Linked DNA regions of Homo sapiens: all the other regions are linked to region 1. Evidence: promoter capture Hi-C in 16 types of primary human blood cells and fetal thymus (Javierre and others, 2016). All regions are on one chromosome and are shown on one strand. The core of a region is centred on a gene start or on the middle of the fragment in contact, and the rest is flanking DNA. Distances in the headings are between cores, read along the strand shown.

Evidence for each region. Contacts are between HindIII fragments. The CHiCAGO score rates a contact against its expected background, and 5 or more counts as called.
Region 2: a contact is called between a fragment that was not itself captured here and the fragment with the promoter of KLF10 in region 1, in 1 of 17 cell types (naive CD4 T cells). The highest score is 5.3, in naive CD4 T cells.
Region 3: the fragment with the promoter of ZNF706 here is called in contact with the fragment with the promoter of KLF10 in region 1 in 10 of 17 cell types (fetal thymus, naive CD4 T cells, total CD8 T cells and 7 more); the score reaches 13.9 in fetal thymus.
Region 4: a fragment that was not itself captured here is called in contact with the fragment with the promoter of KLF10 in region 1 in 10 of 17 cell types (total B cells, naive CD4 T cells, naive B cells and 7 more); the score reaches 22.3 in total B cells.
Region 5: a fragment that was not itself captured here is called in contact with the fragment with the promoter of KLF10 in region 1 in 1 of 17 cell types (total B cells); the score reaches 5.2 in total B cells.

What each region holds. Positions count from the first base shown.
Region 1 is chr8:102,654,123-102,657,175 of GRCh38, reverse strand. It overlaps KLF10 (KLF transcription factor 10), which reads left to right and starts at 1,451. Exons shown (of 4, transcript NM_005655.4): 1 at 1,451-1,610. The coding sequence starts at 1,575. It overlaps LOC101927245 (a long non-coding RNA gene), which reads right to left and starts at 928. Exons shown (of 5, transcript NR_160672.1): 1 at 390-928. RefSeq lists enhancers at 1-220, 821-1,421, 2,715-3,053, silencers at 562-1,581, 2,482-3,053 and a promoter at 861-1,595. The HindIII fragment of the contact is 6,240 bases long and covers 1-3,053 here.
Region 2 is chr8:100,948,849-100,951,882 of GRCh38, reverse strand. It overlaps YWHAZ (tyrosine 3-monooxygenase/tryptophan 5-monooxygenase activation protein zeta), which reads left to right. Exons shown (of 6, transcript NM_145690.3): 2 at 2,983-3,034. The coding sequence starts at 2,994. Among named protein-coding and RNA genes, the nearest start is that of YWHAZ, 1.7 kb to the left of the region's middle. RefSeq lists silencers at 1-728, 1,119-1,338 and enhancers at 919-998, 625-1,484, 1,599-1,658. The HindIII fragment of the contact is 5,201 bases long and covers 1-3,034 here.
Region 3 is chr8:101,203,693-101,206,933 of GRCh38, reverse strand. It overlaps ZNF706 (zinc finger protein 706), which reads left to right and starts at 1,261. Exons shown (of 4, transcript NM_016096.5): 1 at 1,261-1,499. RefSeq lists silencers at 697-916, 1,127-1,726. The HindIII fragment of the contact is 4,829 bases long and covers 1-3,053 here.
Region 4 is chr8:101,328,537-101,331,762 of GRCh38, reverse strand. No RefSeq gene overlaps it. Among named protein-coding and RNA genes, the nearest start is that of LINC02845, 63 kb to the left of the region's middle. The HindIII fragment of the contact is 5,713 bases long and covers 1-3,226 here.
Region 5 is chr8:101,312,022-101,315,348 of GRCh38, reverse strand. It overlaps LOC124901993, which reads right to left and starts at 3,225. Exons shown (of 6, transcript XM_047422526.1): 1 at 3,004-3,225; 2 at 1,038-1,273. The HindIII fragment of the contact is 6,164 bases long and covers 1-3,327 here.

The sequences.
Region 1 (3,053 bases), core at 202-2,701:
TCATTCTGTGATTACTGGGATAGAAATGCTATTTGCATTACCAGCCTTTCATTCAGTTACAGAGACGTGAGTGCTCGAAGGAGAGACAGTGATTTTTGCCTTAAATTCAGCCTGTCCAAATCGGATAAGATCTCCGATTTGCTTTAAGCCCCGTTATCACTGCCTTCCTCTCCAACAACAGCTGCTGTGATCACGCACAAACGGCCAAACGGGGGCAAATCCGTGCCAAAGCAGGGCCATGGGCTTTCCTGATCAGAAGGCCTAGCCCCAGCCCCCAGGCGCAGCACACGGGCGGCTTCCTTTCAGAAACCCAGCCTGCCTCCCACCAGCTGGAGTGGGTGGGTGGGGCGGTAGTGGTGCCAGTTTCAGGGAACGGCCGGCAAACCCACCTCCAGGCGTGCTCCAGCGGGAGCCTGGAGACCCTAGGAGAGCCCTCCCCACAAGCGGCTTCCAGGCAGGACGCTTCCAGAGGTCTTGGTCCAGGGGTGGGGGTGAGGTGGGGTCTACCTTTGAAACAGCTACAATTTAAACTTCAGCTACACCGAGCTCAAACTCGATTCCGCAGCCGAGTGTCGGCGCCAGAGAAGGATAAAAACTCGGGTCTACGGCTCCCCACCACGCCCCTGGTCCGGTCCTCTGGGCTTCCAGGAGTCCTCACGCCATCCTCTGGGTTGCCCAGGAGGAAGGATGGGCGGGGCGGGCAGGCGCTGCGGGCGCTGCAGATGGGGAGGGCGAGCCCGCGGCACGGCGTGAGCGGGGGAGAGGCGCGCGAGCAGGTGTCGGCTCCGTGACAGGGTCCCCCATCCCGCGCCCCAGTGCTCCCCGAGGCTTAGTGAGGCAAAACCCAGCAAATGCTTCAGAAATGCAGCTCAGTCGGTCACCGGGTTCTGCTTCCTCATCAGACGCGCAAGAGGATGGCGCTTCCAATGCAAATCTCTTGGCTCCGGCCCCTTGGCTGGCAGCCGCCGCGTCCCCCGCCTGCCTGGCGTCCCGCCCACTCCGTGGCGGGCTGAGACGAGGCCCGGCGCGGAGGGGACGGGGCGGAGCGGGCATCCCTCCCCACCCCCCACGTGGGGCTGGCCCTCCGCAGTGCCTGGGCGCGCTGCAGTCGCCGCGCCTCCCCGGCCGCGGCACCGCCTCTCTAGGCAGGGGCGGGGGACGAGGGGCAAGGAGTGGGCGAGGGGTGGGCGAGGGGCGGGGGGCGTCACTCAATCAGGTGGCCTCTGGAGTTCCCCGGGGCAGGGCAGAGGGAACACGCTGCCGGGGATTGTGTACACGCTCCACTGACACCAGCTTCACGCTGCCGGGCAGTCGCCGATCACGCGTGGCCCCGCGAGCCCATTGGCCGGCGCCTCACACACCTTTGCCGTTGATTGGCCGGCCTCAGGCTCCGCCCCCACCCCCGCCCGCGGCGCGGGGCAGGCTGAGCGGCTACCTGAATGGGGAGGGGGCAGACGGCGCTGAGCGCGGCGGCGGCGGGAGCGGCGTCGAGTGTCTCCGTGCGCCCGTCTGTGGCCAAGCAGCCAGCAGCCTAGCAGCCAGTCAGCTTGCCGCCGGCGGCCAAGCAGCCAACCATGCTCAACTTCGGTGCCTCTCTCCAGCAGACTGCGGTAAGTCATTTGGGGATGCCCCTGTGCTTCCTCGCCTGGTCTTGTCTGGGGGGCCAAAGGGGGCGCGAACCCCGAGCCCCGGACATCAGCCATGCCTGAGAATTGGGGCTGCAGCGGAGTCGTGGGGAAGGAAAGGGCTTCCTGCCTGCAGACTATGGGCATTAGTGAGGGCGTGTGTGTTCGGGAGGGGGTCGAACCAGGGGGCTGGGATCTTCAGACAGGGACAGGGGTCTTGCTCTAGATGTACTGAGGGGAAGGGACAACTCCGCATGGAGACCCGAGAGGGCTGGTGAGGAGGAGGATGACGAGCGGGGGAGGAGTGGGGAGGGGGCCGTTGCCCTGCAGCGAGGTTGGGGTACAGTGTGGAACGAGAGTCGCGGGAGGGACAAGGGGGCTACCCTCACCTGGTACCGAGGAGAGATGCCCGGTCTGGCTCAGGAACGCGAGCCAGGGGAGGAAGGGGCTGCTCGCAAGCACTCGGGAGGCGGGGTGTCCACAGGAGAGGCGAGTGGGCTACCCATCCTGGGGGTCTGAACCCACGCTTGGAAGACGGGGGCTGCTCAGCAGATAGCTCGGGGCTGGGGGAAGGGGCGCCTGTCGTCGGAGCGGGGGGATGACACGAGGGCCCGCCGACAGCCCTGGGGGACGAGTTGCTCCCCCAGACGTCTGGAGGGGGACTCTTACCCCAGGGGCAGGTGGCCGCCTTCTGACGACTCCTTGGAAGAGGCGGGGAGCCGCCTCTGGGGCAGGAGGGTGGGAAGCGGGACCCAGCAGCTGGGGCGGGAAGGTGGGCGGGGGGAGCTGGGCCGCGAGACGCGGGGGCCGCGCGTCTGGAGCCGGGGCCTGTGGGGGCTGCACGTCTGGGAACCCGTGGAGACGCGCGGCGGGAGGGGCCTGGAGCTGCCGGAAGCCACGGGGAGGGGGCGCCGCGTCTACAGGGAGAGACGGGGTGGTCTGAGGTCCCGTGGGCCGCGTGGGCGGGAAGTGCCGAGGGCTCGGCCGGGTTCCCGGGGGCTGCCGGCGGGAGGAGGGCGGCGGCCGGGTTTCCGCGGGGACCTGGCTCCTCCTCCCGCATCTGAGGCGGAGGCCGGGGGTGGGCCGGGAGCGGGTGCGCCCGGGGAGCTTCTCGTCCCCGAGTGACCCAGCCCCGGCCTCCGCCAGGGGCGGGAGCGAGGCCCGGCCCCGCTGTCGGTTCCTAAGGGAACGGCGGCTCGCGGGGAGCTGGAAGGGGCGGGCGCCTCCCGGAGCCTGGCGCCCGCAGCCCCGCCCCTCCCCGCGGGCCCGGCGCGCACGGCCGGGCGGTTGGCGGCGGCGCCCGCGGCCCCTCCCCCGGGTCGGGCGCGGGCGGGGGCCCGCAAGCTCAGGAAGTAGGGGAAAGGTGACGGCGCGGCAATTCCCAGTTCACGTTTCCTGCGCCTCCCGGAGCAGCCGCTGATCACGCTT
Region 2 (3,034 bases), core at 9-2,508, 1.7 Mb after region 1:
GCCTTCCGAACGCGTGGGAGCCGTCCTCGCTCCGTCCCCTCATCCCCACTCGCCCCGCGGTGGCGGCGCCGGGCTGAGGCGGAGTCTCCTCAGCGGACACGGGCGGCGGCTCCTCTTCCGCTGGGCTCGGGAGGGCGGCTAGCGGCCGCCTCCGGCTCCTTGCTTCCGCATCGACGCCCCGGCGCCGATCGGTGCTCGCTCCCCCGTCCTGCCCCCGGGGGTGGGTAGGGCGCCCACACGCGAGATCCCTGGGGATCTCCCTGTCGCCGGCTCCCGAAGGTGGACGAGGCATGGCCGGGGCGCCGCCGGCCGCGATCCATCCCCACCCTTGTCTCTGCGGGCTTCCACCCCCTCCCTCGCCGCCCTTCTCGCTTCCGCCCGAGATAATGACTCGGCGGCGGCGGCGGCGGGCATCGCAGTGGCGCAGGTGAGGCCGCCCCCTCCCCTCTCCCTCGGCCGCCCCCTCCTTTCCCTCCCCCTCGCGCAGCCTCCGCGCTGGGCGCTGCGGCGGCGGGACCCGGCCCTCCCCCACCCCGGGAGGCGGTGGCGCGGCGGGGAGGGGCCGGGGGCCTCGGGGACCCAAGCGCGAGGGAAAGGCCTGGCCGAGAGCGGGCCGGAGCCCAGGCCTGGCGCGGCGGCGCCCGCCAGGTAGACCGGGGCGAGGCTGCGCGCCGGCGGGAGGGGAGTCCACTGCGGGGTGAGGTTTTGGGGTGGGGCTCGCCTGGGACCTAGAGCTGAATTTCCTGGGCTCCGCGGTGGGAGGAAGGACTTGAATTTTCCTGGTGGGGGTGGGGGATGGGTCTGACTTTTTTTGCTCCTTGTGAACGGGCGGGGGAGGTGTGGACGGGGGCTGCAAGTCCAGGTCGGGGTAGAGAACAGGGTGGTGAGCCCGCAGTCGGCTCCCGTGCTTGATGGACTAGAACTGGAGGGTCCCTGCGCTCGGTTTGGGGACGCATATCCTGCTTTGGGGGCGGGTGAGCCTGAGCATAGCCGCTGGTGGCCCGCTCGGCTGGGTGTGGCTCTCGTCCCCTCCCCCACCTGCAGCTGTCGGTCCCTTAGAGACGCTGTACACGGTCACCGGCGCTGATCGGTGGCGGGGAAGGCGCTGGGTGGGAGAGCGGGGTGTGTCCGCGGCGGGGCTGGTAGTGGTTCCGCTTCTGCGGGCTGCTGTGGCGTCTCTGCCCCGGGGTCGGGCGGCTTCGCTCCCCATCTCTCCCCCCCCCCCACGGCTTGGGCGGGGGCGCGGGCTGCTCCTCCCTCTGGCTCCGGTCGGGGGGAGGAATTAACACTCTGCAGTAGGTTGGGCTCCCTGACACAGATCCGCCATGACAAAGGAGGAGAGTCGGGGACTTGAGCCGTGGCTCCGACTTGGGCGGAGCCTGGAGGGGGGTGGTTGCGATACGCGGACCGGAGAATTTGCACTTTAAAGTCCGGGTCTGCCCGTTTTCGTTTCACAGTAACCGACGTCTCAAGTCAGGTAAGGGTTAAATGGGTGCGGTGAGTCCTGCCCGCAGTGTAGAGGCGAGGCCTTGGAGCACTCGTTACTGTGTGAGAAACCTTATCCACTTCCTCTTGTACCGAAGTGATTGGGGAGAGAATCCTTTGTACTGGCTTAAATCATTTTTTGTTAGAAGCAGAAATAACCAGAGAGCGTTTCTGAGATCCTAAGGGAAAAATCAGTAATTTAGAGACCTGACGAAAATAATGCCGTCATAAAGGTTAAATAGTTTACGTATTGAGCCAGTACCTTGCATCCAAAGTGGTTAATTATTTGTTTAAAATGTGGCGACCTGTTCTCTCATTTGGTTAAAAAAATATTGTGGGATTTCCCTGGGAAGGTAAAAGATGATTAATATTCGGGAGCCAGCTGCCAAGGTGGACTCTTCTGTTCACCTTCTAACTTAAAAGTGCACTTCATTCAGGGTGTGTATTTTCCTCTGAAGTCATTTATTCTGTGGTGTCACTGTGTGGATTAGTATCTTTGTGCTGTTCGGCAACTTGCAAAAGGGTATCTTTCCAGAAAAATGTAGCTGAGGTAAATCGAAAAGGTCCAGGAAACTAAAATGCGAGGGAAAGAGAATTAGATGGGTAGTCATGGTAAAGGACAGCTTGAGTGGTAACATCCAATTACATTATGATGGCTAGAAGCAAAATGCAGCACTTCTGCATTTCAACTGGAGCGATGACATTGGAAACACTTATAAATTAAGTACTTCCAATGTGATATATTCTAGTACTCACAGTAAGAGTTGAAGTGTCATGACTTGCGGATATTTTTAAAGCATGTGGACATATAACAAGATAAAGAGTTGAGACATTAGGGTCAGATATTGATCCTTTGTGGTGGATTTATACTCAAAATATCTGAAAACAAACAGTTGGTCATTCCCCCCCAAATTGTTATGCTATTATTGGCTGGCAGTTGTTGCAGAGATCTAGTAGGTTTGGGGTAGGGGTAACACTAAAGCTAAAATGTAATCACTCTTGACAAGAGTATTATGAAAGTAAAAAGACGTGAGTTACATTAAACTGATATGAATTATGATTCTGGAAATATGATAGAAATCCAGATGTTCTCTGTAAACAATGCTTTTACTAAAGGAAGAAAAGCTGCTTAATTTTGGATCACTTAGTGGTATTGGAAATGAGTTGAGATTTTGATCAGGTAAGATTAGGGGTAGTTTTTGAGGCAGCTTTTGGAAGTAATTTTGACATGTGAAATTTGGGTCTTCTGAACAAATTTTAAGTTTTGCTACACTGATGTGTTAATGGCTGTAAGTTTACCTCTGATGCTGAGTATGCTAAATTTTTTTCCCTTTTTTGACTATCCTTTTGTGAGGCTGCATTTTAATTCCTCATGTGAACAGTCTTTCACAGGCAGTTAGGTTTCAGGTTTAAAAAACTCATTTACCACAGGTATAATTTTGAGTCTGTTTATTTTGATGGGAAAAATTTTAAATACTCCTTTTTTCCCCCCTGCAGAACATCCAGTCATGGATAAAAATGAGCTGGTTCAGAAGGCCAAACTGGCCGA
Region 3 (3,241 bases), core at 12-2,511, 1.5 Mb after region 1:
GTGGCGGGGGTCGGGGGTAAGTATGCACAATAAAGCTGATGTCTAAAGTACTGTTTCCAGATATTCAGCAATTTTAATCATGGTTATAATCGCCATTGCTCTTGTCAGATATTGAAAGTTTGCTGCCACTGCCTGTAAATGGAGAGAGAGCGCGCGCAAAGAACTTTAACCATTCCCCGAAGGATTAGCAACTCAGTACCGTATATTGTTAGCAGTCAAACTAAACCCCTCCGGGAAGCCTGGCCAGCAATTTTTTTTTCTTTTTTTGTTTTTTTTTTTTTTTAGGCAGGGTCTCACTCAGTCGCCCAGGATGGAGTGCAATGGCGCGATCTCGGCTTACCGCAACCTTCACCTCCCGGCCTCAAGCGATTCTCCCACCTCAGCCTCCCGAGTAGCTGGGACTACAGGCGCGGGCCACCATGCTCCACTATTTATTTTATTTTATTTTATTTTTGTGGAGACGTGGGTCTCGCTATGTACTCAGGCTGGTCTGGAACTCCTGGGCTCAAGTGATCCTCCTGCCTTGGGCTCCCAAAGCGCTGAGATTACAGGCGTGAGCCACCGCGCCCGGCCTAGCCAGCAATTTTTAATACGACTTAGGCTTGAATCTTGAACTCACTAAAAGCCCCCAGCTTGGGAAAACACCTGGGGTTTCCATGGGAGTGAGGTAAAGGGCGGCTGTGAAAGAACAAAGGCTGTGCGTCCGCGTTCAGAGCCGCTGGGTCCGCCGGGCTCGCTGGGGGCCGGGGCCGCGGTGTCCTGGGTGGCGGGGCTCCGGGAATGTGACTCAGCCACCGCGGCCCCGCGATCCGCTCCCGGGCCAGCGCCTCAGTCGGTGCCGAGGAGGGCGGCGCCGAGACGGGCGCGTCAGCCTGGGAGGAGCGGGAAAAGGGTCGCAGCGCCTGAGGCCCGGCCGCCGCCCGAGTGGATGAGCGAGCGAGCGACTTGTGAAACACGCCGCGGCCCGGTCACCAACCAGGACCGGGATCACGTGGCTCCCAGGGCTGGGTGAAGAAGCCGCCCGGACCGAGCGCGCCGGAGAGGAGGGGCGCCTGGGGACAGAAGGCGACGTCCCCTGAAGTTTGTGTCAGCCAGGGCCCGCCCCCTCGCGCTTATGTAATAGGGGCGCGCTGCCATTGGCCCGCGCGACCAGCCAGGGCGCAGGCGTGCGAGCGGGGTGGGGGCCAGAAGGAGGCAGCCGCAGAAAGGCACATGGGCGGGGCTGCGAGGAGCAGGCGGGGCGGGGGCGCCGAGGAGAGCGGCGCGGCGTGCGCGGGCACGAGGCGTAGTGGTCTCCCCTAAGGCTGAGGCGGCGGCGGGCGCGCGGCGGCGGCGGGCGTGCGAGGCTGTTGTGCTCCCGGCTCTCGTGTTTCCCCTCCTGAGCGGGTGGAGGAGGCCCAAGCGGTGCTGGGCGCGCTCCCCCTTCCTTTCCCTCCGGCGTCCTCTCCCGGCCCTCTCGCGCTGCACTGTCTCTCCGACGCAAGACTGTCCCGGCCCGGGTGAGCGGCAGCGGGGGCGGTGCTGACGCCGCGGGACGCCCGGGAAACGGGGCGGGGGCCGGCCAGCGGGGGGCGGTGGGGACCGTGGGACTCGCCGCGGGTCGCGAGGGGTCGCGGGGGGCGGCAGGGCCCGGCCCGGGGCGGGCCGCGGGAAGGGGATGAGTTCGGGCGCCTGCCAGGCCCTGCAGGTGGCCGGGTCGCAGGCCAGCCGCGGAAGCGGAGCGGTAACCTTACCCCCGGCGACAGCCGCCGGTCAGCTGCCAGAGTGTGGCGCTCCCGGTGGACGCAGGGGCCGGGTTTCGGGCAGTCTCGGCCTCCAGGAGGCGCGTCTTGGTCCAGGGTCCGTGAGGACTGGCTAGATGGGGGCTGCGTGGCCTTTGGTGGCAGGGAGGAGGAGGGGGTCTCCGAGGCGGGAGAGGCGGGTTTGGGAAGGAAGGTGCGCCAGGCTGAAGCTGGGGTCGGAGAAGTGTTGGGTGGAGACCTCACTGTGGGTGCGTTCCTCCTCTCCTCTCCCCAAAACGATGGTGTTAAAAGCTAGGGTCAGGATGTGGAGCGCTGCCTGGGCCTCTTCCTTTCCGATGGTTATGGAGAATGAGCCTACTTCCTGGACCCAAAATCCTTTTCTTCTGTTACTCATTTATGTTGGTTTTAAAAGGAGCTTTGGGGCAGAGCTTACTTGTTGCCTCCTACGAGAGCGCCTCATTTTAGAACTCGTTTCTTCCACTACTTCCCTCTTTGCAGCCCCCTCGGAAAACCACACTGAGAGTTGCATTAAAAACCAGCATGTAGGTATTTGTAAGTGACTTTTTCCCTCCAGTTTGTCGCATTTAATCAAGGAGCGGTTGTAGCTGCCTACGATTTTGTAGAAAATTGTGTTGGCTTGAGAGCAAGTCCTAAGTTGAGCTGTCCAAAAGCAGGTGGTTGGTTCGTTTGAATTTCTGCTTTCAGAAAGGAAATCGATGGGGCGTGTTGTCAGAAGTTAGGGGCCTACCTCATGCATTTAGCTTATTTTATTCCATTTCCTTTACCTGGTGTTAAGTTTTCTGTCTTCAGAATAAGAACAAGTGACTACTGTCTTTATTAAGTCTCTTCGGTCTTTTTGGTTGCTGTTTGGTGACAATGGAAAATGGGTTGAATCTATTGTGTAATGTTATATTTTAGGGAAAGTCCTAAGTGCAAAAGTTAAAAATAATTTTGTGTGTCTAATGACATTGCTTTGTACGAGTCACAACATGGAAATATCAAAATAGCTAGTAACTTCTAGAAAGCAAAGGAACTTCTGAAATTAGTGGCTTACCATTTTTGAAGATTTTTTTTAACATAAAACAAGATTTCCCACAAAATCAGTGTATTAAGATACATAAAATACATTGTGTCGAAGAGTTAAGATGTGTGAGAAGACTGGCTATTTTGTTACAAGGTCCTGATAGTAAGACATTGAGACAAAAAACCTTGCAAAACATTGGTATACATAAAGGCTGATCACGTGACTACTGTCGTCCAAATAATACATAAGTATCCAAACCTGTTTCCATGGGAATAGGTTTGTAAGCTTGCGGTAACATCGGACTTAAATACACTTTTAAAAAAAATGTGCCATTTGGCTTAGAATTAATAATTTTTTTTAAAGCAAAAATGGAAGCTTAGTCTTCAAGGACTGATAACAGCTGGTAATATTTACCATTGTTTGGTGGGAATGGGGTTCTCATATTAGGCTAGCACGCTAAACATTTTCAATTACG
Region 4 (3,226 bases), core at 48-2,547, 1.3 Mb after region 1:
CTTTCTTCTTTTCTTTCCTTTCTTTCTCTTTCTTTCCCTCCCTTCCTTTCTTTCCTTCCTTCCTTCCTTCCTTCCTTCCTTCCTTCCTTCCAGGGTCTCACTCTCTCACCCAGGCTAGAGCACAATGCATGTTCACGACTCACTGCAACCTTGACCTTCCATGCTCAGGCAATCCTCAAGCCTGAAATTATTTCTTTCCTTTCTTTCTTTCTTTCTTTTGTTTTGTTTTGGTGGAGGACAGAGTTTCGCTCTTGTTGCCCAGGCTGCAGTGCAATGGCGCGATCTGGGTTCACTGCAACCTCCACCTCTTGGGTTCAAGCGACTCTCCTGCCTCAGCCTTCCGGGTAGCTGGGATTACAGGCATCCACCACCAAGCCTGGCTAATTTTTGTATTTTTAGTAGAAACAGGGTTTCCCCATGTTGGCCAGGCTGGTCTCACCCTCCTGACCTCAGGTGATCCACCCACCTTGGCCTCCCAAAGTGTTGGGATTACAGGCATGAGCCACTGTGCCCAGTCAAAAATATTTCTTATGTAACGGCCTCCATGTCTGACAGGGTAGAATACAGAGGGATGAATCTGGCCTTTCTCTCTCACAGCCTCAGCTTCTTCATCCCTTAAATGGAAAGAATGCCTAACTCATAGGGTGGGGCCTGAGAGTGTCTCTTTGGAGCTCAGAAAGGGACAGAGGATATGAGAGAAGCAGCATTTATTGAACACCTACTGTGCATCCAATTTTTTGCTCCTTGGATCCTTACAACAGCCTCAGGGACTAAAAACAATCACACTCATCATCCCCCTGAGGAACCAGGCTCAGAAAGAAGGTGTGTCTACGTGCATTCTGATCTTCCTGGGCCCCTTCCTCCATCAAAAATATTAACAATATTCTATTTTATGACTGCATTCGTATAAAGACAAATACATTGATATGTATTAAAACATTTTCTTCGACATAAAGTTATATATATATATATTTTGTAATTAAAAAAATAACATTTTTATGGGCTTCTAAGAGTATGGTGGGCCCTAGGCATGGTTCCTCCTGTGCCTGAGGGGTTAGTTGGTCCTGTGTGTCTGGTCCAAGGTCACAGAGCCCTAGTGGTAGTGCTGGGGTTTCAGTGCTCCCCATACCTGATGTGCTTTGGGGACCCCAGGCGAGGGGAGGGATGGAGCCAGGAGGGGGCAATGGGGAGAGGAGGAGTTTCCATAGCAACTTAGCTAAAAATGAAAATTCAAAATATGGGTATTTACTGGCTTCCTCTAGACGCTGTGTACTACTCGTGATAAAATAAAACCAGCATTCTTTTATACTTAGAAGGCAGGCAACCCTGCTCATAGGCAATACTGTAAAACAGATAAATAAGCAAGGGGTCCAGTAATCGCTTGACTCTCTAATAAGGCTTCCTTTAATCGTAGTTGGTCACTTTAATATTTACAAATTGCAGCTTAGGGTTGCACAAAAACATTTAAATTATGAGGAAAGTAATGAAAAAAGAAAAGTAGGTCATCTCTAACCTATTGAAACTTCATAGGAAAATAGGAGCTAAGTTCTAAAAGTTCAATCTAATGTAATCTTTTCAGAATACCTGTAGGGCAAAGGGTGCTGCTGTCCACCTGGAGAGGCACTGAGGGGCATGTGTATGTGAGTGTGTGTGTGTATACGCACATGTGTGAGGGGTATACCTTAGGTGTCAAGAACTTTCAAAAGGACTGAAACTGGTGGAGCTGGTTGAATCTCAGAGCCCCAGTGAGGCTGCAGTTGGATCCTCATGGTGTGAGGTTGACTTCCAAGGCAGAGCCCTCAGGCCTCAGACGGGTTCATAGAGAGCAGATTGAGGGGGCCAGGTACTCCTGGGGACTCACAGTCCACTGGTCTGGGAAAATTGGCATGGGGTGGGCAGCAGAGCACCCCCGTGGGCAGGCCTCGAGATGCTGAAGATCTCCTCAGTCAGTGCTCAGCATGCATGAAAATGACCTGAGTGGTCAGGGGAGTGGGAAGGAGGGAGGCAGGACAGGGCCAGGGTGAGTAGACCCCTGGAATAGCTCACTACATGAGCCTAGGGAAATTATTCAAAACCGGGGGCTTTAGAGCCATCCTCCACATTCAGTGGAATACGAAGTGAGTTGAATGGTGGCCCCTAAAAGATATGTCCATGGCCTGGAATCTGCACATGTGACCTTATTTGGAAAAAGGATCTTTGCGGATATTATTAAGGATCTTGAGATGAGATTATCCTGAATTACCTGGGTGGGCCCATAATCCTATCAAAACACAGAAGAGGAGAAGGCATAGACACAGAAGAGGAGGAGGCTGTGTGAAGACAGAGGCAGAGATTACAGTGATGTAGCCACGAGACAAGGAAGGCTGGAGGCCCCAGAAGCCAGAAAAGGCAAAGAAAAGTTCTGCCCTAGAGCCTTCAGGGGTAGCATGACCCTGCCGACATCTTGATTTCAGACTCCTGGCCTCTAGAACTGGGATAGAATAAATTTGTGGTTTTAAGCACCTTGTTTGTGGTACTTTGTTACAGCAGCGTTCTACTCTGCAGCCCAGCATGAGAACATTGAGCTGTCATCAAAGCCACAAGGTACTAAAACTGAAGATTTCACAGAAAGAAATCTGATCAGACCCAGGCTTTCAGGTGCCACCTGGGCTGGGAGGTCCGGTCCTGAGGTCAGTGCTGTCATGAGCCTGGGCTCGATCTTGTGACACTGGCTTTGCCGAGCCTCTGCTGGACACTGCCAGTGTGGGCCACTCTGTAATGTGGGGCCTCAGCAAGGTCCTTGCTGGTGGGATTGAACAGAAAGAAGCTCAGTGTCTCTCTCACACATAAGTTACGTGACTGCATCTCTATTAAATGCTTTTATTTTCTCCCAGGCTTCACTTTATGAATGGGATTTTAATAGCTGAAATTATTGGATCTAGAGATGTACTATAATATCCATTGTCATTTTAAGAAGCTACCTTTCCATTAAGTGGCTTTGAACCCTGTGACAAGCACCTGGTGGCAGTGTCCAGGCATCGGTGGAAGCGGCACTAAGAGCGGCTTAGTGCTGTAGCCATGCTTACTACTCCTTCCCCCAAGCAGAGTGACCAGGGATGCGGGGTCAGAGCAGCCACATAGCCAGGGCTGCCCAGCTACGGAACTGGGGGCAGAGGCACTGGAGACACTTTGCAGCAAGCACAGAGAACATCATACTGCTGGCTAGAGCCAGAACCCTGGACCCAGA
Region 5 (3,327 bases), core at 51-2,550, 1.3 Mb after region 1:
AACAGCACTGAGCACTCTGGTGGTGACCGTAACCAGAGTCATCTGAAAAAAATCATAAAGTAAAACCACAAAGCTCTGATTTGAAAAACATCATCTAAGACAAGAAATCTATTCGATGTCTGAACATACTCATCATCTCTGCAGGCCTGGCCAGCCGACTTTCAATCAAACTACAATGTCTAACAAAATGTTTCTCTGTTTTTAAGAAAAACAACAACAATAAAAAAATCTCTTCAGAGACAGAACTATCCAGGAGATCGAAGTTGTGAGAACAAACATTATTTTCACATATTTCTTTTAAAAGGAGACATACTTCTCAGGATAGTTCCCTAAATAAATAATTATCCAAAGGGCACCTTCTTCACCCTAGCCTTCTTTTTTTTTTTTTTTTTTTGAGACAGAGTCTCACTCTGTTGCCCAGGCTGGGGTGCAATGGCACGATCTTGGCTCACTGCAACCTCCACCTCCTGGGTTCAAGCAATTCTCCTGCCTCAGCCTTCTGAGTAGCTGGGATTACAGGTGCCCATCACCACACCCGGCTAATTTTTTTTGTACTTTTAGGTGAGACAGGGTTTCACCATGTTGGCCAGGCTGGTTTTGAACTCCTGACCTGGTGATCTGCCAGCCTTGGCCTCCCCAAAGTGCTAGGATTACAAGCGTGAGCTACTGTGCCGAGCCCACCCTAGCCTTCTGAATCTGAGACTCAGAGGGGTCCCAAGGAAAATCAGGTAGCTGCTACTTCAAGAAAGGGATGCTGGACTGGCAGGAGTGACAGATGTCCAGACACAGGATTTATGAGTGTCAGCTGATCATGACCAAGCATAGACCTCCCGTGGAGACAAACTGAAAGGCCATGTGGATCTAGAAGAGCAAGCAGCCCGCAAACATCTCAAACAGTGACACCATTTACAAAGGGCTGCCTTCTTGGCTTTCATACCTAGTCAGAAAGACAAAGAACTGCAATACTGCTGGCAGTTACTATTTAAGGATTTACTTGTCAAGTTGCTAAGGAAGTTGCAGAAACAGATGGACAATACCACTTAGGAGATGAAATCTTCAGAGTTCCTGAGGGTTATGGAGCCCCATTTCCATCCCTCCCTCATGCCATCTGGGCTTTGATGTGGGCTGTGACAAAAATACCACCACTTGACTGCAGAACTGCAGGATGTAAAATATGGCAATTTCACGGAGCTACATTGATAACATTCCTCAGTTGGTGTCTTAGCTGCCATATCTGTCTGACAACCTTGCCTTTCAATTCTTTCTGTGATACCTGGAAAACAAATATTTATGAAACGGAGAGAAGAAAGTATGAATTAGGAATATGCAATTGACATCAATATACACCAAACTCCAAGCTAGACACTGCCACATGTAATTTAATTTGATCTTCATAGTAATCCTGAAATGCTGATCAGAGAGGTAACTTTAAAAAAACTTAGTCTGTAGTTTGGGAGATAAAGCATACACAGAGAAAGGTTAAATGATGAAAACAACAGGTTGCAATAATAGAAAGGATTCATTCATTCGTTCATTCATTCATTCATTAATCAATAAACAATTACTGAGCACCTGACAGGCACTGTCCTAGGTACTGGACAAACCATGGTAAGGAGCTCACATTCTACTGAGGGAGACAGTCCGTGAACAACATCAACACGGAAAGAAGGTGGTGACAAGCGGGATGGTGGAAAGTGCTCTGGAGAACCAAAGGCTGCCAAGTGTGATGCCCAGTGAACTGCCATGAAGGGAGAGAGGAAGAGATGGGCTGAGCCTGGGCTGCCAAGGAGGACGCCTAAAGGAAGAGAACTCAACCTTGAACTTGAAGGATGAGTAAAATGTAAATGAGAAGAGTGCATTTATCTGTTCACCACTTAGGCAATATTTAGTGAGCACTACTGTCCATTAGAAATTCCAGTAACAATTAGGCTTTGTCCAGTAAACGATTATTACTGGAATGCCTGACAGAGAGATAGTTGCTCAATAAGTTAACTTAGCTTATTTCATGTGTGTGTGTATATATATATATGTGAAGTATATAGGCCAGGCTTGGTGGCTCATGCTTGTAATCCCAGCACTTTGGGAAGTCGAGGTGGGTGGATCACCTGAGGTCAGGGGTTCGAGACCAGCCTGGACAACATGGTGAAACCCCATCTCTACTAAAAATACAAAAATTAGCAGGGCATGGTGGCATACGCCTGTAGTCCCAGCTACTCGGGAGGCTGAGGCAAGAGAATTGCTTGAACCCAGGAGGCGGAGGTTGCAGTGAGCCGAGATCATGCCACTGCACTGGACGACAGAGTGAGACTGTGTCTCAAAAAAAAAAAAAAAAAAGAAAAGAAAAATATGTATCTCATATATATACATATAAAATATTTATAATCACATACACGTGTACACACACACACACATTCAGAGCTTATTATTATCTATCTACCAGGTGAAGTCCCAAGTGCTTTATATACTTTACTTCATTTCACCCCCAATGTACAAATGAAGAAACTGAATTATGGAGAGATTGAGTAACTCTAAGTCACAAAGCAACAGAGCTGGGATTTAAACCCAGGTAGTTCGGTTCCAGAGCGGCACTTTTAAGCAGCAGTCTGCAAAGTATGGCCCATGGACCAACTCCATTGCACTACCTGTTTTTATAAACACAACTTTACTGGAATATAGCTATACCTGTTCATATTATCTATGGCTGTCTTTGTGCTATAAGGACAGAGAGACCATATGGCCCACAAAGCCTAAAATATTTACTATCTGGCTCTTTATAGGCAAAGCTGGCCTTTAACTATCACACCACACTGCTTCCATGGATGGGGTGGAGACGGTGATAAAGTCCAGACCCTGCCCTCGAGAACATCACAGCCTAGTAAAAATAAGAAGCCATTTCAGTGCATCCTGCTCTCACTATATAACATAAAAATAACAATTAACAAAACAACAATGCAGCAATAATGACAATAACAGTAATCATAGCAACATTAGTTGAAGGCTTACTGCGTGCCAGCTGCAGTCCTTAGTTCTTCACACTTAGTAAGTCACTGAATTCTCCCAACGACCCCATGAAATCCGTCCTATCACTGTCCTCGCTTTATATAGCAGGAAACTGAAGCACAGAGTGTTTAACAGTGTTATCCATCACCCCCCGGGAGCACACAGACTGAACCAGGCATTCTGGGAGGGAGGTAGAATTCAGGGAGACAGAAAAGGCAGACACCAACTTAGGACAGTGGAGGCTTCACTGTCCATAAAAATTGATTTGGACTTTTTTCCTTGGTCAATTATAATTAGAAATATAGAAGATACATTTTACTGAGGGGC